2 separate regions of the Homo sapiens genome follow, and region 2 is linked to region 1. The links are contacts of gene promoters, found by promoter capture Hi-C in blood cells and fetal thymus (Javierre and others, 2016). All regions are on one chromosome and are shown on one strand. Each heading gives the region's core, a stretch centred on a gene start or on the middle of the fragment in contact. The rest is flanking DNA. Distances are from core to core; before and after follow the strand shown. Region 1 holds the start of MYH10 (myosin heavy chain 10). Region 2 overlaps NTN1 (netrin 1).

Region 1 (3,269 bases), core at 246-2,745:
CAAAATCTCAGCAAAGCCAAAGTATTATGTTTGGTATTACATTATTCAGCGAAAACAGCAGTCTTTGTTTCATCTGCAGTCTGCATCTACCCCGCCTGCTTTCCCCTACCCCACCCCAGCCCACCCCACCCCCTTCCATCCACCGCAGTGATCTTGAAGGGAGCTGCAGAGGCCCTAAAGAAACAGAGATAACGGCTGTAGGCAGAGGCCACGTTATCCAAACCTCACCAGCCCGGTCTGACCCGCCGAGTCGCCAACCTCCTTCCTAAGGCCCTAGTTCCAAACAGGCCTGGCTGGGGGCCTCCCGCTTCCCAGGGCCGCATCCGCCCACCACAGGCCCACAAAGCCCCCACAAATGCCAGGACTCCGCGGCTTCAACTTCCCTCCGAACCAATTCCAGTCCGATTTTATGGGATCAGGGTGTGACCCCCAACTGCAGAAGGCAATGAAGAGACTGCGGCGAGCCATTCCCAGCTCGCTTACACAATAAAGGGATCCCGAGGCGAGTGCTGACCCTCCCCCCGGCCGTCCTGCTGCAGCGCGCCCCGCCACATTTCCCGCCTCGCCCCCTCAAACCGCCTGGGCCTCGCAGGGCGTCCACCCCCGGCCTAGGCGCTCCACGGAGGGCGCGGCAGGACGCCCTCCTCCCGCGCTCCTTCCCCGGCGCCGGCGGAGTCCGACCCTCCCCACGCCCGCGGCCGGCTCCGGAGCCCCTCACCCGCCGCGCGCTTCCCCGGCCGCGCAGAGCCAATGCCCTCCTGTCCCTCCACCCACGGGTCGGGCGCGCGCCGCCCGCCTTCCAAGCCCATGGTGAACCCCTCTGGTGCTGCGGGGGACCGGTCGCGCCAGGCCTAACCCACCCAGCAACCCACGCAGGGGCCCTTCCTGCCCAGCGCCCCCCCACCCTACCGCCGGGACTGCGCTTTCCAGCCCCGCTTAGAATCCCCTCTCTTCCTGGGAGGCAGACACTGGCTCGCGGGGCACGCCGAGACCTCCGCCGGGACACTAGCCCCTCGACCTCGCGCCCCCAGGGATCCCACCCACCGAGAACCTGGTCCTCACGTCCCCACCCCCAGATCTCCATCCCCCAGCCCCCCAGGGGTCGCCCTCCTGCACACCCAGGCCCTGACCCCCGCGGGTTTCACAAGGACTTCATTCCCCGCTCCTCCGGGAGTCTCTCCATCTCCACCCACTGAGGTCCCAGTGCCCCCAGCCCAGGACCCTGCTCAAACTAACCTAAGGTCCCCGCAGCACAAACCCTACAGCTCAGAAGCCCCTCTGTCTTCCCCAGCTCCCGCTTCGGTCCCCCGTTCCTGTCCTCCAGAGCCGCCCGGGACCCCTCAGCCCAGGAGCCATTCCTCCCTCCACAAACTGTCCCCCAGCCCTGGGCCGTGCACTCGGACCCGGGTAGCCGCACCTCTCACCTTCAGCCGAAGATGGTGGCGCGGGCGCACGTCCCCAGCCGCGACCACAGATCCAGCGCCTCAGTCCCAAACCCACCGCTGCCTCCGCCGGGCTCCTTTAGCACTGCTGCTCGGGGCTGCCCCACCCACCCCTACCCTCATTGGGCCAGCTCCACGCCCATCACCGCCGCCCCCAGACCCACTGGTTGGTTTGCGCGCCCATCTCCAAGGGAAGACGTTAGCAACCCGAACGAAGCTACCTTCCCGAGTCCGGCTCCCTCCACCCACCTGGAATGACGCTCATTGGCTCCCGCTCCCAGCCCAGGCCACAGAGGCCCCAATCTCATGGGCTGGCTCTTACGCCCGTCATAGGCTCCGGGAGGTGCGGCCGGGGCAGTGGCGCGGGATTGGCTGGCTCGTGCGTAGATGGACAGCTGAGGCTGGCTGAACGCCCGGCGATCCCGCGAGGCTGCGGGTGCGGGCCCCGCGGCGGCCGGCGCGCTGCGCTGACATTGGCTGTGCGGGCCGCGGGGCAGGTGGGCCGCGGCAGGAGGCTGGCGCTCTGACTGCAGACTCCTCGTCCTAGCGTCAGGCAGCCGCCGCAGCCGCAGCACATTCGAGCGCCCGGTCGCCCCCTGTGCTTGCGGCAGCCGGCATGTACCGCAGCGGGACGGGGTTCCACCGCGGAGTCGCGGGCCCTCAGCGTTGCCTGCAGGGGCGGGGCGGAGCGCGGTCCAGAGTCCTGACGTCACCCCCGGGGCTGCGCGGGGTTGGGGCCGCGGCGCTGCGACTCACCTGCAGTGGGGGAAGGAACGCGGGGGAGGGCGCTGCTCCGCCCATGCGCACAGGGTTTGGCCCGGGACCCGGCTGCGCTCCACGCTGCGGCCACTGTCCCGACCCCGGCCCCAGGCGGACTCTGCCGGGATCGGCCGAGCGCCAGGCGCAGGACACGGTCCTCCAAGGTCGCAGTTTTGGTGTTAGCGGGGTGAGAGGCTCTCCTGCCCAGCCTCCAGGCAAGGCTGAGATTCCAGAAGAATGAGAAGAGAACCGACCTTGGAGAGAAAACTTGGAAGAAACTTTATTCACCTCATTCATTCACTCGTTCAGTCGCTCCTTCATTCATTCATCAGAGCTCCCTACGTGAAGGGCTATGAGAGGTTCTTAAGAATATAAGGCTGGATTCCTGTAGCGCTGTCATATCCCCTAGGGCTTATGAAAACGTTGGAGACTGAAAAACAGTGGCCCCAAAATAACGAAAGGAAACTGGAAAAATCAAAGTAAATAAAATTTAATGAAATGTCTGCAGAATCTAGGCAACTGCAACAAAACTCTTGCATAATTATATATAAATATAATAAAGTCTAAATCACATGAACAAAATGAATTATTCATACAAAACCTGAAAGTCAAGATCATAAAAATTCACAGCAAGATGCAGTTATTAATCAGTTATTAATGTAGGCTATGGGAGCATTTTAATACATGTGATAATGATGTGTTTGCCTAAGCCTAGGAAACGTCTAGTCTGGCAAAAAGTGAATTAAGCAAAAAACAAGGCAGGAAGTCCTAAGGAAGGGTTGGTGGAATTCAGAAGAGGCTGGAAGGCAGCTGAGTGCAGAGTCCTTCCTGGGGAAGTCCGAACCAGGCTCTGTTTTGTCCTTTGTCCTGCTGCATCTGGTCCCCCACCCCCACCTGCCTGCTGGGGTACTACCCCGTGTCCAGGTGTCTTGTGACTTGGCTCTGTGAAGAGGTCTGTCCTTCTAATGCAGTCTGCACATGGAGTACAAATTAACTTTCCAAAATATATGAATGATATTCCTCTAATGAATTTTAAAATGTGTTTAGAGAAGACCAAAGACTCCCTCT
Region 2 (3,269 bases), core at 488-2,987, 400 kb after region 1:
TCTCTGCAGGCTCAGAAGGCATGGTGTTGGTCTGGGTGGCCTGGGAGCTGTGGAGTTTAAAATGTCCGTCCATGGTGGTTGGGGGGTTGCGTCCTGAAGACAGACCACAAACTCCTATTGAGTGCCAGGCATTGTCCTAGGTGCTTTATATGTGCTTTGTTTCAATTAATCAGATTGCCACAAGGAACGGAAGCTTTTCAAAGACAGATGTCCTGGCCATCAAAGGGCAGCTTTTACACAAACGGGACTAAGTGTGGATAAGTCTGCAGGGCACGTCTCGGCTTATTCTGTGACACTGTTGCATGCAGAGAGAGCAGGGGGTATCAGGAGCGTTTGCTTGGAAGACTGATCACATAAAAGCCGTGTCCTATTATAGCCAACTCGGAGGGACGGTTGTTCTGAATAGTACTTGAAAGAAGTGAGCTGCCTGGGCCAGTCCTGTAGATACAGACGTTCACCTCAAAGATATCTGCTCTCATGAGGTTTGACTTGCGTAGCACAACTTAGTGAGCTCAGTATTGCATTCCTGTCTCCTTACTCCAAAAATGGATTTCTATTGTAAACTAAGAAGTAGATTTTAATTTGCGTTTTAAAAGTTATATCATTGGCCGGGCGCGGTGGCTCACGCCTGTAATCCCAGCACTTTGGGAGGTTGAGGCGGGCAGATCATGAGGTCAGGAGATGGAGACCATCCTGGCCAACATGGTGAAACCCCGTGTCTACTAAAAATACAAAAATTAGCTGGGCGTGGTGGCGTGTGCCTGTAATCCCAGCTACTTGGGAGGCCGAGGCAGGAGAATTGCTTGAACCAGGGACTCGGAGGTTGTGATGAGCTGAGATTGCCCCACTGCACTCTAGCCTGGCAACAGAGCGAAACTCCGTCTCAAAAAAAAAAGAAAAAGTTACATAATTTATGTGAATTTCCCCCCACATCAAAAGGCCTTGGCTAGGTGTGTATTCAGCCCCAAATACATTATTTTGTGCCAGTTCTCCCCTCTGATGGAGAGAAGGGACTGTGGCCATGTGATTGATGAGATACAGAATGTCTCCCATCAGACCCTTTTCTTTTTCTCCCAGAGCTTAAGTTCCTGCCCCAAGCACAGTTCTATCAGAGGCAGCTGCTGGCACTCAGAGCACAAAGGAAGATACTCTCCGAGGAGAAAGGGGTACCTATGGTTCAGGAGTACCGCCAAGGAATGGAAAGCTGTGCTCCGCTCTTGCCTGTGTCAGGACCACCCCCAGCAATCCCTGGACCTTCTGTCATTGGGATTAGTGTACTAACTACAGTTAGGGTGAAATGAATTCACACTGCAGTGCATTGGTGCATGTGAAGAAGACCTAGAAGAAAGATGATTCTGTGGCTGGACGCAGTGGCTCACGCCTGTAATCCCAGCACTTTGGGAGGCTGAGGCAGGGGGATCACGAGGTCAGGAGTTCGAAACCAGTCTGGCCAACACAGTGAAACCCCTTCTCTACTAAAAATACAAAAATTAGTCAGGCGTGGTGGCACGTGCCTGTAATCCCAGCTACTTGGGAGGCTGAGGCAGGAGAATTGCTTGAACCCGAGAGGCAGAGGTTGCAGTGAGCCAAGATCACGCCACTGCACTCCAGCCTGGGTGACAGAGCAAGACTCAGAAAAAAAAGAAAAGAAAAAAAAAAGAAAGAAAAGAAAGATGGTTCTGTAAGTGTGGTAGACCTCCGGATTATTTAAAGGGTTCAAGTAAATTTGTTGGGTGAGAACTTTAAAAGCAGAAAGTAACACTCCAGTTCACTTCTCAACTCAGCTAGTGCCTTGCTGAGGAAGGTGCTAGAAGTCTGTCTCCCTGGAGGATTCAGGAATTGGCCTGTGTAAGGTCTCAGCTCGCTGCACACGTGGTCATATTTTAGTTGGGAACCCATCTGTGCCCCCTCCTGGCTGGTGCTATTGCTAGATTTTCTAGATTTTTCCCGTGTCTTTTTCTGCCTGAAGATGAGAGATTATTGGTTGTTGTGTCCAATTTTCACACATCCCAGAGACTCCACACTTAATTGAGACAATCTGTAGGACTACAGGGACCTCTAAAGGGGCTGGCTTTAAATAACTGAGTCCTATGTAAGGAAATGAGGTAGATCTCTGAGTTTCCTGAGGGCCTGTATGCTGTGCTGCATTCCATATTTGAAGTCCCCAAGTGAGGGACACTTCCTGCCTGCTTGATTGCCATTGTCAGGGCTTCTGATTTCGTCTGTTTCTGCTTTGGGGCGGCCGTGGTGAGTACCCAGCAAATAAATGTACCACCACTCCCGCATTCTAAAACCAGGGCAGACATTGGCAATCAACGGCAGCATGCTTTCCTCCTAAGTCGAGAAATGATCTTATAATATTAGACTCCTCAATATAACTCCTTAGGCAGAATTAGCCCATGAGATGAAAACTATCTGCCATTTTTGGTCCCCTTCTGAAGACCTTCCCCTTCCCCAACCTGCAGACAGAGAAGTACTTTGTATACATGGACATTTCTGGAGCATTTACTGTTCAGGTGGCTCTGTTTGGTCTGGGCATGTAAAGAAATGTAAAGTAGACCAGGTGCGGTGGCTCACACCTGTAATCCTAGCACTTTGGGAGGTTGAGGCAGGCAGATTATTTGAGGTCGGGAGTTCGAGACCAGCCTGGCCAACATGGTGAAACCTCATCTCTACTAAAAATACAAAAACAAACAAACAAAAAAAACTAGCCTGGCATGGTGGCCCACACCTGTAATCCTAACTACTCAGAGGTTGAGGCAGGAGAATCTCTTGAACCCGGGAGGCCGAGATTGCAATGAGTCGAGATCGTGCCACTGCACTCCAGCCTGGGTGATAGAGATGGTGTCTCAAAAACAAACAAAAAAAGAAGATAAAAAAAAAAAAGAAAAGAAATGTAAAGTGGATGCCCTCCCTGCAGGTGAAATATGTTTCCATCAAGGAGGCTGTGCACGTGAGAAGGTGCAGACGTGTCCACTTGCACTAACCCTGAACAGGGATAGGCGCCCCCAGTGAGGCACTTTGCTGAGTGTCCGGGGTGCAGGGAGGGGCCGAGGGTCTTGAGAGGAAGAGCATTTTGGATTTGGCTCCTGTACCACGAAAGGATTGGATTTTAGTCCACATCACATTTGCCTGCTGCATTGGTTCTGTTGTAGTGTATTTGTTTTCTCCCATGCCAAGAATTTGAGAGACCATGGTTCCCTGAAAAGAGTGGTCCCCCAAGGAATGTCCGCCCCGACGTTTCTGGGCAGGTCCTCCAGAACTGCCTT

What was found. The method cuts DNA at HindIII sites, captures the fragments that hold promoters and counts their contacts. A CHiCAGO score of 5 or more calls a contact.
Region 2: a contact is called between a fragment that was not itself captured here and the fragment with the promoter of MYH10 in region 1, in 1 of 17 cell types (neutrophils). The highest score is 6.2, in neutrophils.

What each region holds. Positions count from the first base shown.
Region 1 is chr17:8,629,230-8,632,498 of GRCh38, forward strand. MYH10 (myosin heavy chain 10) reads right to left here and starts at 1,496. Exons shown (of 43, transcript NM_001256012.3): 1 at 1,425-1,496. RefSeq lists enhancers at 1-647, 648-1,425, 1,426-2,203, 2,902-3,196 and a silencer at 1,688-2,367. The HindIII fragment of the contact is 12,132 bases long and covers 1-3,269 here.
Region 2 is chr17:9,029,106-9,032,374 of GRCh38, forward strand. All of the region lies in intron 2 of NTN1 (netrin 1), which reads left to right. Among named protein-coding and RNA genes, the nearest start is that of NTN1, 9.2 kb to the left of the region's middle. The HindIII fragment of the contact is 3,093 bases long and covers 192-3,269 here.